Linked DNA regions of Homo sapiens: region 2 is linked to region 1. The links are contacts of gene promoters, found by promoter capture Hi-C in human tissues and cell types (Jung and others, 2019). All regions are on one chromosome and are shown on one strand. The core of a region is centred on a gene start or on the middle of the fragment in contact, and the rest is flanking DNA. Distances in the headings are between cores, read along the strand shown.

Region 1 (5,026 bases), core at 716-3,215:
ACCCATGAGTATGGCCCTGTATATAAACAGGGTCTTTGCATATAAACTAGTCAAAATGAGGTTGTCGCCAGGTGCGGTGGCTCATGCCTATAATCCCAGCGCTTTGAGAGGCCAAGGTGGGAGGATTGCTTGAGCTCAGGAGTTCGAGACCAGCCTGGGTGACATGGCAAAATCCCCATCTCTACAAAAACAAAAATTAGCCAGGTGTGGTGGTGGGGCCTTGTAGGCCCAGCCACTCCGGAGTCAGAAGTGGGAGGACTGCTTGAGCCAAGGGGGTTGAGGCTGCAGTGAGCTGTGATCACGCCACTGCACTCCAGCCTCGGAAACAAAAGATCCTGTCTCAAAAATAAAGAGGGCCGGGTACGGTGGCTCAAGACCGTAATCCCAGCACTTTGGGAGGCCGAGGTGGGAGGATCACCTGAGGTCAGGAGTTCGAGAGCAGCCTGGCCAATATGGCGAAACCCCGTCTCTACTAAAAATACAAAAATTAGCTGGGCATGGTGGCGCGTGCCTGTAGTACCAGCTACTCGGGAGGCTGAGGCAGGAGAATCACTTGAACCCGAGAGGGGGAAGTTACAGGGAGCCGAGATTGCACCACTGCACTCCAGCCTGGGCGACATACCAAGACCCTGTCTCAAAAAATAAGCAAATAAAATAATAAAGTGAAGTAAAAAGGGGTTGTCAGGGTGGGCCCTAAATTCTGCTTGGCGTCTGTGTAGAAGGGGAAATGTGGGCACAGACGTGATGCAAGGAGGACAAGGTGACGCTTCCACAAGCCAAGGAACCTGGAGGATACTGGCCACCACTAGGAACTGGGAGATTCCCCTCGGCCTCAGAAGGATTCGGCCCCACCCACACCTTCATCTAGGATTTCTGGCCTCCAGAACTGTAGAGAATGTTTCTGATATTTAAGCCACCTGGCCTGTGGAATTTTGACAGCCACTCTGGGCAAACTAGCAGGGACTCCATCTTTCCCCGCAGAAGGGAATCTCTTAAGACCCAGGAGAACACCCCCCTCTCACTCCTCCTACCCCCACCTGGGATTTCCAGCCCGGGGCCATATAACAATGCTAGACCCATGCTACTCTTGGCAGCTGGGGAAACGCTTTGGGTGGGGCTGGCCCACCTGCCCTGTAAGTACAGCCTGGGCCCACAGGGAACAAAGAGCAGAGTCTGGGAGGGACCCAAGCTTAAGTGGACTCGGCAGGTGGGAAGGGTGGTGCCCGCCAGGAGAACTTGACCTTGAGCTGCCCGTGGACAATGCACTCTTGTGTTTGAGGAGGGTGGCGCCAGGCTGGGGACACAGAGGAGACCTTGGGCGCCCGGGGAGGGGAAAGTGCGGCGCTGCGGGTGCCCCGGGCTGCGGGAAGCGCCGCTGGCTTCCCTAGCCCCACTCACTGATGGAGAAGGTGCCGGGCTCTTCCCGGACGACTCTGCAGCGCTCCAGCAGCAGGGCTCCGACGGGCTGGAGGAGACACGGGCGCCGGGACGGGGCAGTGAGCACCCGGCCTCCGAGGGGCCCAGCCTGGGACCCGCCCGCGCGCCCGGGACGCCCCTACCTCGGCCTCGTCTGTCCGAAAGTAGAAGAGGAAATTCACCACCAGCTTCACCAGCCGCCGCTTCAGCACTGCGGGCACAGCGCGCACTCAGGGGCGCAGGCAGCCCCCGCCCGGACCCCGGCCTCCCGTCCCCGGCGCCCCGACCCGGACTCCGGCCTCCGGCACCCCCGCCCAGACCCCGGCCCCGGCCTCCCGCCCCTGGCACTGTCTCGGTCTCCCGGGTCCCGCTCACCGCTGCCCTTCTTGGGGCCCCTCATGCCCAGCTCGGCCGCCATCTCGGCCGGCTGCCGGGACAGAGCCTGCAGCTCCTTCTCGTTGTACCGCATGGCTCCGCGGGGAACGGGAACCCGGGCCGCGCCCTCCCGGCCGCCGTCCCCGCTCAGGCTGGGGCCGGCGCCAAAAATGTCTCAGGGCGCAGACACGGAAGCACCCCCAGGGCTAGTGCGCCTGCGCACCTTGGGCCAGCCATGCCGCCCGCCTCCGCTGCGTGGCGCTGGCGACCCGTGGCTGCTGGCGTGGGCGGGGTACCGGTTGGTAGGAGAGACGGACCGTTGTTACATAACCATTAAACTGAAATAAACCGGACCAAGGTGGAACAGAATCAAGGCACCCCAGCGATGGCTGGCACCCCTTTCTAGAGCGGCCAGGCGCAGGCGGAGGGAGCGATAACGTCGCCCGGAGAGTGTCAGCCGCTCCCTCGCGAAAGTTGGCCCCGTGCGGCCGCAGCGGACCGAGGGTTCGTTGAGAGCGTTGTGCGCACGCGCAGTTTGCCTTCCAGGCCGCGCTTTCAGCCTCTCCCCCTCCAGCCTTTTCCTTCGCGCCTCGGGACCCTCTGACTCACGCCGCTGGGCGGGCCAGGCATGCGCACACCAGAGGGCCCGTCTCATTTGCCCCGGAAGTGCTTTCTTTGCCCGCCGTTCGCCAAACGAAGTCGTGGAGGTGGCGAAACGAGGAGGAGATAACGCGGCCTTGGGCTCTGGTGAGGAGTAGAGGCGGTTGAGGGCGGCGGCCGACGCGGACCGGGGGTTCCCTGGGGGACAGCGGACGTAGGAGAGAGGCGCTTGCGACAGGCCGCGGGCCGAGGGTGGGGCGGCGGCGTCGCTCCCCTCCCTCCTCCCGTGAGCGTCCGGCCTTGTGCATCCTGAGGCCCCGCGCTGGGCGGGCCTGGAGGGTCGGGCCCGCCAGGAACTCTATTTCCAAACTCCTGTTGGGAGGCCGCGCGCGGGGCCTCACGCCTGTAATCTCACTGCTCAGGGAGGCCTTGGCGGGAGGATCGCTTGAGGCCAGGAGTTCGAGACCAGCCTGGACAACACACCGAGACCCCCATCTCTACAAAAAATTTTAAAAAATTAGCCAGGAGTGGTGGTTGTACCTGTAGGCCCAGCTACTCGAGAGGATCGCTTGAGCTCGGAATGTCGAGGCTGCAGTGAGCCATGATCCCACCACTGCACTCCAGCCTGGGCAACATAGCGAGACCCCATCACTGCAAAAAAAAAAAAAAAAAAAATTAGCCGGGCGTGGTTGGTGACGCGCGCCTGTAGTCCCAGCTACTCTGGAGGCTGAAGCGGGAAGATCGCTTGAGTCCAGGAGGTCGAGGCTGCAGTGAGTTGTGATTGTGCCGTTGCACTCCAGCCTGGACAACAGAGCAAGACCCTGTTTGACAAAATAAAAAAGAAACAACCAAGATTCGTTGGGGTCGAATCGGGATCGCGGCTGAAATGGTTTCGGCCGCCTTCCTTGTAGCCGAGAACGCTTCTGTATGCTCATCTATACCTGTTAGTTGACTGGGGCTCTGTGATGTAATTCCTGTGAGCCTCAGTTCCCTTAAAATGGGAGTGACGGCTTCAACATCATGCCAAAGGCGACCAGAACACGTTAGCTGGCCCCATTTTGCAGGTGCACCCCGCTGTGACCGTTGTTCTTGTGTATCCTTGGACGACACCAAACAGCCAGGCGGAGCTCTGGAAAATAGGTTGTTGGCTAGGTTAAGGAGAGAACGGTGTTGCCACGAAAAACTAATTCCTTCTCAATGGTCTAGTCCCAGGTCCCAGAGGCCACTTTTCCTCAATTCTTAAGCTCATTTCCCCTGGTCGTCATCGGTTTTTTGTTTGTTTTGAGACAGGGTCTTGCTCTGTCACCCAGGCTGGAGTGAGTGCAGTGGTGCAATCACAGCTTACTCCAGCCTCAAACTCCCATGCTCAAGCCATCCTCCTGCCTCAACCTCTCGAGTAGCTGGGATCACAGGTGCTCACCACCATGTCCGGCGAATTTTTGTATTTTTTGTAGAGACGAGGTTTCGCCATGTTGCCCAGGCTGGTCTCGAACTCCTGACCAGGTGATCCACCTGCCACGGCCTCCCAAAGTGGTAGGATTACAGGCATGAGCCACTGCACCCGGCTAATTTTTGTATTTTTTGTAGAGATGGGGTTTTACCAGGTTGGCCAGGCTGTCCCCTGATCTTTACCTTAGTAAGTAACAGATTTCTTCATGGATTTATCAATTTGTAGACATCATCTGCTGATTTCTTGTCACGGCTGTTGAGATCTTCTCCCTCCCATCCACCCACTGCACCTTCACCTTCCATATCCTGAATGAGTTTATGTCATGAGCATAGTTGGTCATTGGTTGTGTTTTCTAAATAAGATGCAAAATATTGTTGGCTGCTAAAACAAGTAATATGTTCAGCTAGGCTTTTCTTGTACCATTCTATCTTCCCTTAAAGCTAATTAACTTTGTTTTTACCATGAGCCTGATTTTCTTTTACCTGCTGTTTGTTTTTTCCCCACAAAGCTCCCACCTCTCACACACCTATCAGTTGTATTTTGCATAGGTTTAAATAAATTGATCTCCCCTCACCACTTCCCTCCAAGACCCCCTTATCCTCCTCCTCCAAATGGGACTGGTTGTGCTCTGACCTGGAAGTGGAGCTGTTGTCCCAAACCTTCCTGTCCTTGCTCCCCTGTGCTGACCTCTGTTTCCAGTGTGGTCATCTCTTTCCCTTCATGCTGTCCGAGCAAAACTTCTGGGAGCTTTTGAAGAAACAGATGATTTTTTTCGGGGGGTGGGGGAAGTCCTTGATTGTCTGAAAACGAGTTTATTTACCCTCATAGTTAGAAGTTTGGTGGGGTATAAAAATCTAGATTGAAAATCTGTATTTGTAGGCCGGGCGTGGTGGCTCACGCCTGTAATCCCAGCACTTTGGGAGGCTGAGGCGGGCGGATGACCTGAGTTTGGGAGTTTGAGACCAGCCTCGCCAACCTGGCGAAATCCCATCTCCACTAAAAATATAAAAATTTGCCAGGCGTTTTGGCATGTGCCTGTAATCTCAGCTACTCGGGAGGCTAAGGCAGGAGAATGGCTTGAACCTGGGAGGTGGAGGTTGCAGTGAGCCAAGATCGAGCTACTGCCTGGGCGACAGAGCGAGAATCCGTCTCAAAAAAAAAAAAAAAAAAAGAGAGAGAAAAAAA
Region 2 (4,987 bases), core at 749-3,248, 520 kb after region 1:
GGCCGCAGCTGGCAGTGAGCTCTTCCGAGCAGGCACAGGGCCGGGGTGGCCGGGAGGTCGACTCGGAAAGAGGCTTCTCACAGACGGGAGAGTTCCTGCAGACAGACCACGGGATGGGGGGCGGGGGCTGTAAAAGGCTTTGGAAGCCACACGATCCGCCACACGGCTGAACGTGAAACCTGCCACTTCTCTGAGAGCGGCCCGGGAGCACCCCAGGATTCTAGAAAACACTCAAGTGACCGAGCTTTCTGGGGGCTGGAAGGGAGGTCGCTGCTGGTCTGTGCTCAGCTTGCTGGCTCTCGTTTCAAGAAGGGTCTGGGGGCTGTAAGGGAGTTACAAAAAGGGAGTGGAGGAGGGCAGAGATAAAAGGGGAAAATCCATCTTGACATGCAGGTCCGAGGTCTCTCTCTTCCCCTCTCTCAGGCAGTCCAACAGGAGGAAGTGGCAGACAACCAGAAGGCTTCCTTCGGGTCGGCCAGGGAAGGACGCGGTCACACCGGGAGCAGCTGGAAGGGGACAGACATGAAGGCTGTCAGAGCGCAGGTGGGGACCAAGGCTGCACCACACACTCCAGGCAGCAGGAGAGGCCCAGAGTGGACAGCCAGGGGCCACAGCGGCTATTTCAACGAACGTCAGAGCCACAGCTGCACCAGAAGCGTTCCACACACTCGGGGCCACGTGTGGCTGGTGGCGCAGAGAACATCGCCATGACCTAGAAGGGTCTACAGTATGGTGGTACTTTGTGTATGAGGTTACGGTGGTAAAAAATCCACCTCAACTATTAAAAAAAGAAAAGGAAAAATAAATAAAAGCTTATTTAAAAAAAAAAGGGAAGACTGGAAGAAAAGGCGGCCAAAATATTAATGTTGGTGGCTCTGGGTGAGAAGATTAAGGTTGGGCTGAATGCACGGCTCACACTTTGGGAGGCCGAGGCGGGAGGATCGCTTGAGCCCAGGAGGTTGAGGCTGCAGTGAGACGTGACTGCACCACTGCCCTCCAGCCGGGGGGACAGAGCAGGACGGTCTCAAAAAAAAAAAAAAAAGATTAAGATTGTTCTTGCTGCTTTTTAACATTTTTGTATTTTAAATTTGTCTACAGTAATTATGGTTTAAAAATGAAAGAGAGTGTATATGAGGAGGGGACAACGACAAAATGAAGAGGCCACATGGGAGCAGAATGGAAACACCTCTGGGGAGGCCCGGAGCCTCCCGCCCCCAGGGAGCCGGCGTCTGCTGGAGACAGACAGGACTGAACTCAGGGGAGCCTCCCACCCCTGGGAAGCCGGTGTCTGCTGGAGACGGACAGGACTGAACTCAGGGGCCCCTGGGGAAGGAAACCAAGCCAGCCACGGGCCCCTGGAACCCATGGGGGACACTGAGTGTATTTTTAAACAACTGTAAGTGCAACACCTGCTCACAGTGAGAAAAGGACAAAAAATCCCTCACAAAATGCAGGCAGAACGCTCGGGCGCAGTCAAAGGCAGGTACCCGGCTTGTCCTTTCCACCACTCGATGACCTCGCCCCCACCCCCGAGGTGGCAGCCCCGACACTGCAGAAACAAAGAGCTTCTGCAGGCGGCCTTAGGCAGGGGGGACCCCAGACACCAGCCCTTCCAGGGAGCTGTGGCTCTCCCCTAATCTCCACCCAGCGCCGATCCACAGATGGGAAAGGAGTGGGGAGCAGGACTTGGTGGCCACCTGGAAAGGGGCCCAATGCCCAGAGATGCCCCCACCTGCCTGGGCGGTTCAGGGTGATCTTCTGAGCTGGATGCACCCAGGACTCGCTGTCCAGTGTCCAGACAGGCTCCACAGCCCCCGGGCGTCACTCCTGCTGGCTGCCCTCACTGCCAGGCACTCACGTGGTGTCACTCCTGCTGGCCACCCCCCAGCCCCCGGCCCCATGCACTCACGCAGCGTCACTCCTGCTGGTCGTCGTTGCTGGCGCTGGGCGTCCGACTCCGGATCTGGCTCCTGAGCTGCTCTATCAACTCTGGGTTCTGCTGCTGCATCTGCTGGGCAAACTGCTGGCCCCTGCGGGGAAGGGCACATGGGGCTCAGCCAGGGCCAGGAGGCTGCCTGCTGCCTCCGTCCATCCCCAGCTGACCCCTCGGGCCCTCCACCCCAAAGACAGGCCTGACCCCTCGCTGGAGGACGCTGGGCCCTTCGGAGCAGGGGACGCAGCACTTTCGCTCTCCTCCTTCCCTTCCGCCTGCGAGCCCTGCCCGCCGCCCACGTCCTCCGTCCTCTTGGAAGCAGTTCCACTCACGCCTGGATGAGGCTGGCCAGGTCGTTCTGCGAGGGGCTGGTGCCGGGAGTTCCCAAGGGGTTGTTGCCACCCGAAATCATGCCGGACATGCTGCAGGAGAGAGCGCGTGACTCGCAGCCGGGACAGCCTGACCGCCACCCCCACTGCAGGCCCTCGCAGTGGCCCGGGAGAGAATCCCTCTCAGCCCTTCACCTTCCCCTGCAGGAGAGGATTCTCTCTCACCACCTGGTGGGCCTCCAGGGCCCAAACCCACCCTGTGACTTTCACCTGCTTTCCCAGAACACCCCTCTTTCTTTGGCCTAAAGAGCGTAGTTCTCAGCCAGGGGGTGATCCTGCCCCCAGAGGACCCCTGCAATGGCAGCGGACATTTGCAACAGCCATGATTGGGTTACGCCAAGACAGGGGCAGGGGGTGCTCCTGGCATGGAGTGGATGGAGGCTAGAGACAGTGCTCAGCACCCTGCAGTGCCCAGGACGGCCCTGCTCCAGAAACTGGTCCAGCTCAAATGGCCACGGTGCTGTGGCTGGGAAACCATGCTTTAAGATTTGACCGTGGGCCAGCCGCGGTGGCTCACACCTGTCATCCCTGCACTTTGGGAGGCTGAGGCGGGTGGATCACCTGAGGTCAGGAGTTCAAGACCAGCCTGGCCAACATGGTGAAACCCCATCTCTACTAAAAATGCAAAAATCAGCCGGGCATGGTGGTGGATGCCTGTAATTCCAGCTACTTGGGAAGACCCACTTGATCCCGGGAGGCAGAGGTTGCAGTGAGCCAAGATTCTGCCACTGCACTCCAGCCTGGGTGACAGAGCAAGATTCTGTCTCAAAAAAAAAAAAAGGAGAAAGAAAAAAAGATTTCACCATGAAAACAGGTGAGCAGCTCCCCAGTGCGCACAGCGCTTACTGGGGAGTGACCCTATGAGCCAGCGAGTGCACTCAGAAGTTTATATCCAAGAGAAACGAAAACAGGATTCACACAGACGATTGCACACCCGTGCTCAAGCAGCACCGTTCACAACAGACAAAAGGTAGAAACAGCCCAAATGTCCATGGATAGATGTGTGGATCAGCACAGCGTGGTCCCTCCACACTGGAATATTACTCAGCCATGAAAAGGAGCGAGGCCCTGACCCAGGCCCCAGCACACATGCACCTTGAGGACGTCACGCTCAGTGAGAGACGCCAGACACCAAAGTTCACGCAGTGTGTGATCCCATTTCTACGAAATGTCCAGGACAGGCCCATCCACAGAGACAGGAAGGGGATGCGTGGTTGTCAGGGGATAGGAGAGGGGTTGGGGAGTGACAGCTGAGGGGGAAGGGGCTTCTTTCGGAGGTGATGAAGATGGGTTGGTGCTCAATGGTGGTGACAGTTGCATGACAGTGTGATGGTGGTGACAGTTGCATGACAGTGTGATAGTGGTGACAGTTGCATGACAGTGTGAAAGTCCTTAATGCCATTAAGTTGCACACTTTAAAGTGGTTAGTTTTATGTTAAGTGAATTTACCCACAATAAAAGGAAATTTAACCACAACAAGACCCGAAGAAACCCGGTTGTCACTTACAGCTGCTGAATCTGGGGATTGTTCATTAGGTTCGAAGCCTGAAGAACAGAACAAATTTGTCAGGAAGACAAAGCTCCCAGCGCATCATTCTCTTTCATCAGACACTTTCCATCTTAACCAGCCTTGGTTCTGGACTCCAGCACGCCAACCAACAGTAAGAGCCGGGCATTCGGTCTTTCATACCCTTTTCCCTACATTTTCGCCCCCCCACCCACGAGCTGTGACCTCCACATTGTGACTTAAATCCTGTTTTGGGTTCCTGCTTCAGGAGCGATCTCGCAGCGCCACAGCGCTCTCTCACTGGCTGCTGCGGTTTTGCTGTGTGGAGGCGTTTTGGTTCTTTATTTTAGCTGCTGTCTGCTTTAGCATATTTCATTTAGCATATTTGGTTCCAGTTTTGCTCTATCAATAAATAGCACTGTGGCTGGGCGCGGTGGTTCACGCCTGGAATCCCAGCACTTTAGGAGGCCGAGGCAGGCAGATCGCTTGAGGTCAGGAGTTCGAGACCAGCCTAACCAACATGGTGAAACCCCGTCTCTACTAAAAATATGAAATTAGCCAGGTGTGGTGGTGCATGCCTGTAGTCCCAGCTACTTGGGAAACTGAGGCACAAGAATCGCCTGAACCTGGGAGGGGGAGGTTGCAGTGAGCCGAGATCACACCGCTGCACTCCAGCCTGGGTGACAGAGTGAGACTCTGTCTCAAAAAAGAAGTAAAAATAAATAAATAAATAAATAGCACTATACTGGGCACTTTCTCATGTTAACTTTCCACTTGGGATTATTCCTTTGGACCTGTTGAAAGGAGGTGGCTCAGAGGTGTGGCAAACTCTCTGTGTAAAGGGCCAGTGTGTAAATACTCTCAGCCTTTTCAGACACGGGTGCCTGACGCAACTACTCAGCTCTGCCGCCGTATCATGAAAGCCACCAGTGACACTAGGTGTATGAATGGGCATGGCTGTGTGCCAATAAAACTTTATTGGTCAGGTGTAGTGGCTCACACCTGTAATCCCAGCACTTTGGGGGGCCGAGGCGGGTGGATCACAAGGTCAGGAGTTCGAGACCAGCCTGGCAAACATGGTGAAACCCCATTTCTATTAAAAAATACCAAAATTAGCCAGGCATGGTGGTGGGCACCTGTAATCCCAGCTACTCGGGA

Evidence for each region. Contacts are between HindIII fragments. The study calls those that stand out against the background at their distance.
Region 2: a contact is called between a fragment that was not itself captured here and the fragment with the promoter of PLEKHJ1 in region 1, in 2 of the 25 tissues and cell types used here (lymphoblastoid cells and mesenchymal stem cells).

Annotation. Positions count from the first base shown.
Region 1 is chr19:2,234,364-2,239,389 of GRCh38, forward strand. PLEKHJ1 (pleckstrin homology domain containing J1) reads right to left here and starts at 1,966. Exons shown (of 6, transcript NM_018049.3): 1 at 1,792-1,966; 2 at 1,560-1,627; 3 at 1,399-1,465. The coding sequence starts at 1,885. SF3A2 (splicing factor 3a subunit 2) reads left to right here and starts at 2,461. Exons shown (of 9, transcript NM_007165.5): 1 at 2,461-2,538. It overlaps MIR6789 (microRNA 6789), which reads right to left and starts at 1,563; the gene lies at 1,466-1,563. RefSeq lists enhancers at 191-770, 773-1,381, 1,990-2,598, 2,177-2,226 and silencers at 1,407-2,036, 2,647-2,746. The HindIII fragment of the contact is 10,839 bases long and covers 1-5,026 here.
Region 2 is chr19:2,755,428-2,760,414 of GRCh38, forward strand. It overlaps SGTA (small glutamine rich tetratricopeptide repeat co-chaperone alpha), which reads right to left. Exons shown (of 12, transcript NM_003021.4): 9 at 3,830-3,867; 10 at 2,266-2,355; 11 at 1,910-2,030; 12 at 1-506. The coding sequence ends at 1,916. Among named protein-coding and RNA genes, the nearest start is that of SLC39A3, 18 kb to the left of the region's middle. The HindIII fragment of the contact is 7,304 bases long and covers 1-4,987 here.